2 separate regions of the Homo sapiens genome follow, and region 1 is linked to region 2. The links are contacts of gene promoters, found by promoter capture Hi-C in human tissues and cell types (Jung and others, 2019). All regions are on one chromosome and are shown on one strand. Each heading gives the region's core, a stretch centred on a gene start or on the middle of the fragment in contact. The rest is flanking DNA. Distances are from core to core; before and after follow the strand shown.

The links. Contacts are between HindIII fragments. The study calls those that stand out against the background at their distance.
Region 1: a fragment that was not itself captured here is called in contact with the fragment with the promoter of PARP15 in region 2 in 1 of the 25 tissues and cell types used here (bladder).

The regions. Positions count from the first base shown.
Region 1 is chr3:122,405,729-122,411,898 of GRCh38, reverse strand. It overlaps FAM162A (family with sequence similarity 162 member A), which reads right to left. Exons shown (of 5, transcript NM_014367.4): 4 at 4,510-4,618; 5 at 1-2,160. The coding sequence ends at 2,068. WDR5B (WD repeat domain 5B) reads left to right here. Exons shown (of 1, transcript NM_019069.4): 1 at 1-53. Among named protein-coding and RNA genes, the nearest start is that of WDR5B, 7.2 kb to the left of the region's middle. RefSeq lists an enhancer at 5,390-5,439. The HindIII fragment of the contact is 5,283 bases long and covers 1-4,469 here.
Region 2 is chr3:122,574,615-122,580,783 of GRCh38, reverse strand. It overlaps PARP15 (poly(ADP-ribose) polymerase family member 15), which reads right to left and starts at 3,134. Exons shown (of 12, transcript NM_001113523.3): 1 at 2,931-3,134. The coding sequence starts at 3,116. It overlaps DTX3L (deltex E3 ubiquitin ligase 3L), which reads right to left. Exons shown (of 5, transcript NM_138287.3): 5 at 5,581-6,169. RefSeq lists a silencer at 2,778-2,827 and enhancers at 2,888-3,167, 4,702-4,751. The HindIII fragment of the contact is 9,405 bases long and covers 1-6,169 here.

The DNA of each region.
Region 1 (6,170 bases), core at 579-3,078, 170 kb after region 2:
GTTGTGAGCTTTAGTTTAATGTAATATTTGTAATAAAAACGTTTGGCCAGGCACCATGGCTCATGCCTGTAATCCCAGCACTTTGGGAGGCCGAGGGAGGCTGATCACCTGAGGTCAGGAGTTTGAGACCAGCCTGGCCAACATGGTGAAACCCCCGTCTTTATGAAAAATACAAAAATTAGCCAGGTGTGGTGGTGCACACCTATAATGCCAGTTACTGAGGAGGCTGAGGCACGAGAATTGCTTGAACCCGGGAGACGGAGGTTGCAGTGAGCTGAGATCATGCCCTGCACTCTAGCCTGGGCGACAGTGCAAGACTGTCTCAAAAAAAAAAAAAAGGTTTCATTAAATTTAAGCTCATAAATGTTACTACATTTATAATGTAAATCTCCAAGATACAACACATTTTTGTTGTATTGCTCTATGAAGAGGATTATTTTTAAAAGAAATTCCACATTAAAATTTATCCACATTTAAAACATTGGTGTAGGTGTCCCAAAATAAGAAAAACTAATCTTCTAAAATGTACAAGAAACTATGCTTTTTGAAAATAAATTTGCAAGTGATAACTTGATACCTACAAAGAAGCTAAGGCCAAATTAAAGTATATAGACAGACATCATAAACATCCTCAGATAGATTATCAAGCTATAGGTAGTATGTTACATTTTACTGGGTATTTTATTTGGGAAGAAAGTGCCCAAACAGCTGCATGTATTTTTAATCTCTCTTATAACTCTCTGAGAACCAGCATGTTGGCATGGCTGTATACAGTAGTCACCCCTTACCCTCTGGGGATATATTCCAAGACCCCCCAGTAGATGCCTGAAACTGTGGATAGTACCCAACCCTGCATATACTATGTTTTTCGTATACATACATACCTATGATACCGTTTATTTTATAAATTAGGCACAGCACAATGCACTTTGAGGCAATTATTAAATAAGAGTTACCTGAACACTAGCACTGATTCCACGACAGCTGATCTCGTAACAGAGACGGCTAGCACATACAGTGTGAATACACCAGAGAGAGGGATGATTCACATCCCAGGTGGATGGAACAGATTGGCAAGAGATTTCATCATGCTACACTGAATGGTATGTAATCTATAACTTATGCATTGTTATAGGAATTTTCCATTTAATATTTTCAGACCTCAGGTAACTGAAACCACAGAAAACAAAGCCGTGGATAAGAAGGGACTACTATAATGGCTTGTCATCCATGAATAATTAAGAAGCATGTGAGAATCAATGTTTAAAATAGAAACCTGTATTCATACCTAAATATGAGACAACTCGATATCCCAAGGTCAAACTGTAAATGAGATATATATGAGGTGCAAATACTTCTAACAGTAATAATACATGAGATTTTTATAATTGAGAAATTTAGTTTCTCAGGTGGTAAGAAAACAGCCAGTTGAGAATTCTAAGGCATGAAGCTAAGAGGTGACTTGTGTTGACCCCAAGCAACTCCATGACGCTGGGATTTCTAAGTCCTTAGAAATTCCTGGCTGGACCTTGTCAGAATGTTTAAAAAACTATTCTCCTAAAAGCCTCCATCTGCCAGCATGTTCAAAGATTATAGAATGTGGTCTGGCTGCTTCTCAGCGCTCGCTCTATTAGGGGGCAGCCTCCCCACCAGTACACCAGGACATTTGAGAAGGCTGGCCCTCCAAGCTGCACCTGGGCCATATACTCAACTGGCCTTCCTTATCTCCTCAAAATGAGTTCGCCTGTGGAGAGGTTACTTTGATAATGGGAAGAGAAGTAAGATATGGTACCTGCTTCTCTGAAGAGTTGGTATTCAAGTTGAAATAAATTGTTTCATTTTTCTCCAAAAGGCTGAGAGGCTACACTTGACTTGGATCAAAACAATAAAACACAGTCATTATTTAAGAAAATTTATTTCTACTTCTACAGCAGAAATACGGAAATGGTACAGGTTTGGGCAAATCATACTTTATGAAATGGATCCTCATACCACATCCTTTTTAATACAGGCACGTTATAACATAATTCCTGGATTTTCAAAATCCAGCCAACACGGATACCTCTGCTACTCTGTTTTGGCCTTCATAGCTGCTTCCTCTTTCAGACGAGCTTTCTTTTCTAAGTTCAAGCTTGTTAAAGTCTCGTGTCTTTGGGCAGCCTAAAGCAAAACAGATTTGAACAGGTGATTTGTATGCTGGTCAGGGGAGGGTGTCTTTACCTTGCACTGATGACAGCAGGTTAACAGAGGCATGGAGGCATGGAGTCCTCTGCTGCTTGCACACTGAGCACGGCAGTTTCCTCTATGTGCTTCAACTTCCTCGTACGCTTCCAAGAACAGCAGCTCATCCACTCAAGCATAAGTAAGAAGTGCCACACCTCTCCTTTTTCTTCCCTTCTGGCCCCTTTCTTTCAGTCTTTATCCTCTCCTTTTCTCTTATACTTTCTTCTCATTCCACCCCACTTCTCTTTTATACTAAATACCTTCTCATTGCCATTTCTATCCCGTTTTTCTTCTTTCACTTTTCTCTGTTGCTGCCATTTCTCCTTCCCCAACTTATCTGCATACTCAGATCCTTCTAGTTCCTCACTTCTCTTTTACCAAAAACATTCAGCTTTGGGAATCCCAGACTTTACCCAAATACTACCATTGATGATTTCCACGAGTATCTGTACTACAATTCCAACCTTTGAGTGGGGGAGGCAACCGTCCTCTTCCCTTGTTTCCCTCCATGTAAACGGTCAGATTTCTATGAAGCTTACATACAGGCCAGTTTCAACACTTTTATACCAAATAGTGAAACTAGCACCCTAAGCTGATATTTCCTTCTATCTGTGTAATTTCATATGTAAAAGAATTGGGTATGTGGCGGGGGGTGGGGGAGCGGGGGGAGAAAGGGAAGTTGATGGTGAGAGCAAAATATACAATGGCTAATTTTTCTCTTCCAAATCACATTGAGTTCAAAAGTTCTCCATTCCAGTAGTATTTATGGAAACAGAAATTCCATAAAACTAAAATGTTACAATTTTATGGTAAAGAACAGGAGAAGAACTCTCTAAAATACACAGCATATACCCCTGGATGATGCTAGAAGAGATTCCAGGTGAATAATTTGCTTCTGGAGTATTTAAACTCAGCTAGTACAATCGAGTATACAAAAGCAATGCAAATTTCTCAGAATCCTAGAAGCTCACAGTCCTGTCCACATGTTTCTGCTGGTTTTAATCTGAGAACTATGCATGAGAGGTCAAAGAGGGAGACAAGAAAAAATGAAGTGGGGTGGGAACAGAGTTTTCAAGAGAACTTCACCCAGCTCAGCACATTTGCCCCTTCGTACTCCCATGAGGTCAGCCTAAAATGGTCAGTATTTCCATTTAACTGCAAGAATGAAGACAGCCAAAAGTACATTTCCTTTTACTCTGGAATTACTGAGGATAAGAAAGTCAGTTAAGAGTGCGTGTATAGAAGGACCTTTTTAGTATCTTAAAGTAGTTGTAAGACATCACTTTCCACATGGAAGCTGTGATATATAGAATTATACATGGTATTAAAAGAAGAATTTGACCAAAGCTGCTGAATATAAAAATAACTATGGCTTAATAGCAAGATAGTATAGTATGAGGTTTGGTAACCTGCAAACTTGGGTCTAGATTTTTATCTTGCCACTTGTTAGCTGTGTGAGTTTGGGAAAACTATTTACCTCTTAGGGTTATGGGGGTGATTAAGTGAGCTTAACAGTGCCTGTTACATAATAAGCACTCAATAAATGGGAGGAATTTTCCTATTACCTGAATTGGGTCTAGGTTCACACTGTGGCTCGTCATTAAGGAGATATGTGGCCTTGGGCAAGTTACTAAAGCTTTCTAAGCTATAGTTTTCCTCATCTATAAATCAGGTCCTAATAATACTTATCTTACAGTGTTTTTGTGAGGTTCAGATGAGATACCAGCTAGAAAAGTACCTGGAATGCAGTGAGTGTTCAATTAGTGATAGCTATTAATTATAATCTGTGCTAAAGATTTCTGGACTTGTATTCCTATGTACTGCTTAGGAGCTGTGGTCCTTAGACACATGGCCCTGTCTGGCTGAGCTTCAAATAAAGAACCCCGCTAAGAAAGCTCACCATGCTGAAGGCAGTTATGGTGAGGGTAAATACACTTGGGTACCAAGAGCACTCTGGAAATATGCAGTGGGTGATTAAATATGCCAGTGTCCTATTTCTTAATTTACATTATGACACCTGTCATCAGAAACACTTTTTAAATTTACATTACACAAAATGAATCTAGTCCTTCTTCACCACGCCAAAGTTAGGATTTGCTATCTATCCCCAAGGATGATATTCCAGGCTTGTTCCCAATATGTCTTATTTTTTTGCTTATCTTTTCTCATGTAATGTAGAAAGTAGCCTCCTCTTCTCAGAGGGTAAATACAAGGGTCAATCCCTGATTTACTCTAGGTTCTTGGTGGAGAACATACATACTGGATAGAGAAGAAACCCCTTCTCACCTTCTTGCCCTCAATAACCATGAAGATGCATCCTACCACCGTCAGGGCAATCATTAGATAGCTGATCTTCACTCGCATCTTGTTCTTTGCAGCATCAAGCATCTCCAACCTAGTAATACAATGAGATCATGAGAGAAAGTTATTAACTTTTCCCTTTCTGAAGTTGCTCAGGATAAAAGGCTGTGTATAAATTCAAAATGTAGTAGTGTCTATAAATATAAATAGGGAGACCTAGAGATCTCTTTAAAAAGGGCCTAGAGATCTCATAGGACTTTGGGGAGGATGAGGCATTTTTCGTAACTCATTTATGTATAAAATACAGGATAGCACACAATTAAGTACAAAAGAAGAAAACAAAAAGAGAAGTCAAGAACAAAGCCAAAAAAAAAAAATGGGCAAGGCATATTAATCTACACTTGCTATGGTGGACCCCAATTTTGGCTCTCAGGTTTCCAAGCAGCCTATAAATGCTAGAAGTGAAACAGTCATTTCTCCCTGAGGTTCTTAAGAAGACATTATGTGATGTAGTCATCGTCTGAAAACATCTCGACAACAGATACTACAATAAGCTTCATATGTTTCAACACAAAGCACAATTCAGAATGATCAAACATTGGAGAAAGTTAACCAATGTGCTCCATATACCCAGCTTTTTGCTCTCTGTCTTGAACCCAGAATAGATTTGAGAATATCTAAAATAGTAGGAAGATCCTTTAAGCAATGCTCCTCAATATTTATCTTTTTAAACAAATGTTTTGCTAAAATTGAGTGACAGTGAACTTGATATTGTGGTCTTTGGCAAGTGCCAAAGTGCAGCTCTTCTAACCTATCTACTGAATACAGACCCATGTGCCTTAAAAAAAAGTTGATGGTTGGTTCATCATTCTTGTGTGAAACCTAAGAGGCTTAATATAGAAGAGTCTAAAGGCCAATCTACCTTGGTGATTTTGCAAGTAGGCAGTGAGTCATGGTTCTATTTTTAATTTACTTTATTTAAAGAGATGGGGTCTCACCATGTTGCTGACTCAAAATCTTAGACTGAAGCGATCCTCCTGCCTCAGCCTCCTGAGCAGCCGGGGCTATAGGCATGCATTGCCACACCTGGTGGTCACGATTCTGTTACCTCGGTGTCTGGCAGAACCTCAAGGCAGGGGATGTGGAGCCCTTATGGGGCCCAGGATTAACTTATGGCCTTCTCAGTAGATGTGTAAATAGGAAGTGATTATCTCTAGATGATGGGATTGAAGTGCTTTCTTTCCCCTGAGATATTTAACATATATTACTTTTAAAATTGGGGAGGGGAGTACTTTAAAAATGCTTGGAAGGAGGCAAAGAGTCTGGGATGTTGCAGGTGGAAGGAGGAAGATGATGAAGCCATGTACAATGTGATGTAGGAGCTGGGACCTGTGAGGCAGCATGTGGACGGGGTTCTCCAGGCACTTAAGCTGGGCCTGCAGGCTGGCAGGAACCCAAGACAACTGCTAAGGACTGTCAAATTGGTCAGTTAGGAGCACCTGAGATTCCACTAACCACAAACTGACTTCCCATGTTGACGGTATTTTATGGGATTTGAAGTGCCATGATCCTCATGAAAAGTAATCCATTCCATAGGGAGTAATAGGAATGGGCAAGTTAAGCAGTGCCTGTTCAGAACTACCAGC
Region 2 (6,169 bases), core at 1,885-4,384:
AAAGGTGGAAGCAACCCAAATCCATCAGTTGGTGAATGTATAAACAAAATATGTTTATATATACGTATAAAATATTATTCAGCCTTAAAAAGGAAGGAAATTCTGACACATGCTATCACATGGATGAACCCGGAAGACATTATGCTAAGTGAAATGTCAGTCCCAAAAAGACAAACACATACTGTTTCAGTTTTGCAAGATGAAAAAGTTCTGAAGATTGCCTATGCAACAATGTAAACACACCTAACACTACTGAACTGTATACTTAAAAATGGTTAAGACGGTAAATCTGATGTTATATGCATTTTATCATTATTTTTAAAAATAAAAGAAAAAGAAACTTGGTAGATTTCAGTGCAAATATTATCAAGGGTAAAAATGTCATTTCATAATGACAAATGAACCAATTCATCAAGAGGAAATAATCCTAAACATTTTATTCCTAATAACAGAGCTTCAAAATATATGAAGCAAAATTGAGAGAACTCCGAGGAGAAAATAAACAAATCCACAATTATAGTTGGAGATTTCATCATCCTCTCTAAATAATTGATAGAACAAGTAGACATAAAATCAGTAAGGACATGAGGACTTGAACAACAACCAACTCCACCTAATTGACATTTATAGAACACTCTATCCAATGAGAGAATGTACTTTGTTTTCAAGTGTGCTTGGAAATTTACCAAGATAGATCATATTGTGTCCATAAGACAAATGTCTCTGTGTGTGTGTGTGCGCGCGTGCATATATATATATATATATATATATATATATATATATACATATAGTTGCTGTTGTTGTTCAGACAGAGTCTTGCTCTGTCACCCAGGCTGGAGTGCAGTGGCGCAATCTCAGCTCACTGCAACCTCTGCCTCCCAGGTTCCAGCAATTCTCCTACCTCAGCCTCTTGAGTAGCTGGGACTACAGGTGTGTGCCACCATGCCTGGCTAATTTTTGTATTTTTAGTAGAGACGAGGTTTCACCATGTTCGCCAGGCTGATCTTGAACTCCTGACCTCAAGTGATCCACCTACCTTGGCCTCCCAAAGTGCTGGGATTACAGGCGTGAGCCACCGCGACCGGCCCTCAATACATAGATTTTAAAGAATTCAAATAATGAAAAATATGTTTTCTGACCACAATGAAATTTAACTATTAATAGAAAGCAGTAGCAAATTAGTGATACCTAAGGCTCCAAAGACTCTCTGCTGAATGATTTCATGTACATGACGTTCTGGAACTACAGGGACCAAAAGATGACCCTAGTGGTTGCCAGGAGCTCATCTTGAGTGAAGAGGTTGAAGACAAAGAAACTGGTAGAAAACTCTTTTATATCTTCATTATACTGGTAAACATTTGTCAAAACTCACAGAAGTATACACTAAAAAGTATGAATTTTCTAAATATAGAAAAGCTGTCTGTAAATTACACCTTAATTTTTAAAATGAAAGAAAACATCAAAGCATACATACACGTAAATAGACAACATAGCGAATGAGTAAACCTCATATATAATATTGAGAAAAAAGAAAAATTGAAATGTTTTATGTGAAGATAACTATAAACCTTCTTTAAAGACACAAAAATAGACTTAAACAATGAAAAGGCATCCTTTGTTTCGCTTCCTTTTCTATGTGCTTCAAAACATTCCTTCATAATGGAGATTTCATTGGTTGTGTCGAGGATCAGTACACAGATATTTCAATTTGTACACTATTCTTAACATACACACACAAAAAAGTTTAAAAAGTCATGTATTGTAATTGTTTTTAAAAGTTATTCTAGTGACTTTCCAGCTTAAAATTTGGAGGCAAATTTTCCTTAAGAGGATATGAAGTACCAGTATCTACAATTGTTGAAAAGCTGTTACATATGTCCCACCAATTCACAATTTAATATCATATACATTACATACTCAAATTTTCAATCTTTCACAGCACAGTAGGTTAGACCATGTCAACACCACCTAAAGATATCAGCTCTCTGTAATTTATTAATTTAATGCAATCCCAATAAAAATTCCAAAGAGCTTTTCTTTTTTTTTTTTAAACTGATCATACATCAGAAAAGTTCATAAGGAAAAATAAACAACAAGAATAGCTAGGAAAATAGTGACAAGGAAGCACTCTCTAGGAAGACTAGCCCTGACATTAAAACATACAGCAAAGCCTCTCTAAAGCAGATGAATAAACGGGTCAATGGATGAAAATAGAAGGTCCAGAAATACCCGAACCACATATGAAAGTCTAGTACATGATAAAGCTGGTATCTCAAGTTACTGGGACAGTGACGACCTTTATAATAAATGGTGTTGGGACACTTGATACCCATTTGAAAAAAAATAATTAGATTCACTCCTCAAACCACACACAATAACACACTCCAAATGTATTATAGATCTAAATGTAAAAAATACATCAGTTCAAGTACTAGAAGCAAGCATGAGTGAACTCTTCTATAACTTGGGTGTAGGGAAGAGTATGACTAAAAGTCATATATTAAAATATGACTAAAAGTCTAGACGTCATAAAATAAAAGACTGGTAAGTCTTGCCACACAAAATTTAAAATATTTGCATGGCAAAGAGAAACAAAAGCCCCCCATAAGCAAACTCAAAAAACAAAAAATAAATTGGGAGGACATATTCATAACACATATCACGAATAAAGGACTCATATCCTTTCAAACTTTATAAAGAACTTTTAAATTTTAAGGGAAAAAAAAAAAAAACCACCAGAAATGCTAAGGAAAAAGAAGCAGCACGCATCCCCCTCTTCCGGAACAGGGAAGTCAGTGTAGTCGGCGCCCCCTAGAAGAGAGGGTTGTGCGTGGCGTGGGGTCTCTGCGCCCGCTCGGGCTGCTGGGTCTTGCGGGCCCCAGGCTCAGCCCTGCTGTCCCCTTCCCGCACCCGTCCCCCGCGCTCCTCACCATACTCCGGGAGGAAGAGCGCCGGGAGGCCTTCCGCGCCCCACGGTTCCCGGCCGGCAGCACGCTCCCCGCCTCCCGATCTCGTCCGGCTCTGGAAGTAACACCTGCAACTCCGTGCATAAGTTCTCTGGGGGTCGGAGCCCCTGGACTCAGAGCAGCGGCAGGAAGGGGGCCTGGCGCAGCCATCCTCAGCTCGCTGGGACTGCAGTTGCGCCCCACCCAACAGGCTTGTGCCTCGAACTTCTTTTCTCTGAAAACCGCTTCCGTCAAAGATTGAGGCCTCGAGTTTGCGAACAGCTGCCTCAGGATTGTGTCGCCCTTTGGGACAGACGTTACTGCCAGACAAATCCTGGGTCAAAATCCTGAGGTCTGCAATTTTATTAGTTATGTAGCCTCAGTCAATAGCATCTGTACAGTGGGCACAGCCATAACTATTTCATGTTATTATAATGAAGATTAAATGAGATAAAGTCTGTAGAATGCCTGGCACATTAAAACACAGGAATCAGTATTCCTTTCCTTTTCTGTTGGGCATCCCACTCCTTTCCCCCCAATTCTCCCTACACACCCATATTTAGAAAAATACACTGGGTTCTCTCCTGTGCTCCCTAAGCCAGGGCTGGAGTCAGGTTCCCCTCTGGCCCAACAGGGCATTATTTAATTCAATCAACGCGTATTGAAGGCCTTTGATATGCCTGGCACTGTGTTAAGATTATAAAGATGAATTAGACACAGATCCCCTCTCTTTGGAGTGAGGGGTGAAGTAGGAGGTGGAGAAATAAAACATAGATTAATACTGTTACCTGGTGTATCACGAAAAGTCCTGGCAGTATACAGATGGTATACTCAAAATTAATAATTGAAGATAATTTAATAAAGAAATTATTTACACAGGTGTGGGCAAAGGGTTAAGGAAACCATTGAGAGATGGTGAAGTAGCCTCCTCCCCTTACCATCTAGGCTGAAGGGGCAAGGGAGGGGGCATCTCCTGAACTTGGTAAGAGCTATACCAAGTGCCAGCAGGTAGAACCCATGACTGCTTTCGGAAGACAGCCAGGGGAGTATAAGCATCCCAAGTACTCTCTCCGTGTGCCTTCCAATCTCGTGCTGGTACCTCCCACTGCAGAACCCAATGAGTAATCAGAGAATGGAGCTGATGTGGTACTTAGAGGTCAGCCCTCAGTACCACCTCCAAGGCAGAGAGCAGGGTAAAAGGTTTTGGTATCGTATTTGCATTGAGATACATATAAAGTATTAGGATAACAGAAATCAGTGGTTCGTTGTAATTTAGAGACAAGATTGGAGAAAAGTTTCTATAGTAGTGGCATTTCAGTAAGACCTTGCATGATGAGTAGGGGACTTTCTAAGAGGAAAATCAGGTGAAGAATGAGAATGAGGTGTGTCTCTCTCTCCCTCTCTCTCTTCAGAGTTCCCTTTTTCATCATCTGTCATGCAGAGAGCAGCGATGGGGGTGGATTACACAGAACAAAGATCACATGAATGAAAGCATAGACTGTGCTTTGGAAAATCTTGTAGTCTGGTGTGACTGAACCCTAGGGACTTGGTGGTGAGGAAGGAGCACAAAGTATGCAAAGTGGCATGAGCAATCGCTAACGGCCATGCTGCTGAGTTTAAACTCTATTTTCTAGGCCAGTGGATCTCTAAATGTAATTCCCAGACCAGCAACATCAGGTTCATTGTGAAGCAGTAACCAGGGTGATAACCCCTAGCACCGCGTTACATTACATCTTACTTTGCCTCACTTCTCTTTTTGTTTGTCCTTGGGCTTGGACCTCCAAAATTATTAATATCTTAATCTTTGCATCAAGCTCTATGTTTTAGATCTGATCAATAAAAATGACCCAATCGATAAAAAAGGAAATAGCACCTAACTTCTGTATGGAAATCAAACCAAAAACAGTACTAAACATTTTTTTTTTTTTTTGAGACAGAGTCTCGCTCTGTTGCCCAGGCTGGAGTGCAGTGGCCTGATCCCAGCCTACTGCAACCTCTGCCTCCTGGGTTCAAGCAATTCTCATGCCTCAGCCTCCGGAATAGCTGGGATTACAGATGTGTACCACCATGCCTGGATAATTTTTGTAAACACTAAACTATTACGGTAAGTGTAAGGAAGTCCAATAAAGATCTTATTTTTCTCCTAATGATTACTTTGATGCTATTTTCAGGGAAGCATCAAATATGTATTATTCTTTTATTTTATTTTTTCTTTGGAGAGAAGGGTGCCCCTGATCTAATAGTGCTCAATGACCTGTCTGGGTACTTCAGCACCAATGTTGGAGAGGTGAAACAGAACCTCAAGAAGCAAGGAGAGGGCAAATATAGTTTGATAGGGTATTGTATATACTCTCTCCAGGAGAGAAGAGATGATATCTGCAGCCTACTTTTATCTTTATAACCTATATGTTATAAGGAAAAAATACTGAGAAATGTGATTTTTACAGCCAAAAGTAACAGCAGTGAAGTCAAGAGTAGTTAAGTTGTACTGTGATCATATTTAGGAAGCAGCTACACACAAAATCAACCAAAGATCTCCATGCACATGTTATACAACTGTATGCTGTGTGTGTTGTAGGAAACACCCAGAATCTCAACCTAAAGGAAAAAAAAAGAAGCAAGGGAAAGAACACAATTTGTTCCAAATCTTTAACTTTATTTAAAGCAGATACAGATGATAACAGCTTCCAAAGAGTAAAAGCAGTAACCCAAATGCTCTGCAATCTCCCACACCATGAAACTTGCATGTCACACACAGTGCAATCTCCCATCCAGAATCCAGAACTTAGTAGAAACCAAACTTTTGCTTCTTTGGAACAAATTTAGCTAAAAGATGAACAGCTAGAAAATAACTATAATAGTAAAGAATTTAATGAATCACCAAAAACTAAATTTATAATCTGATTTTTTTTTAAAAACATGTATCATTTAGCTTAAGCTTCCTCAACTCTCTGGACAAAGAAAAAGATTCTGAGTTTTTAAGTTCTTCCAATAGGATTTCCTCTGGGGAAATTTGCTTTGAATACTGTGTGGGAATCCATTTCTGAGAGAAGCCCAGAATAAAGGGATCGCCTCAGGCTGCTCCATGGAGAAGTACCCTCATGGGAGACAGTACAGCTCTGGGGGGCAGAGCTATGGGGGCAGACTACCTGGTTCATACCCCAGCATTTCCACTTATTAACTGTGTGACCTTTGGCAAGTTGCTTATCCTCTCTGTGCACCAG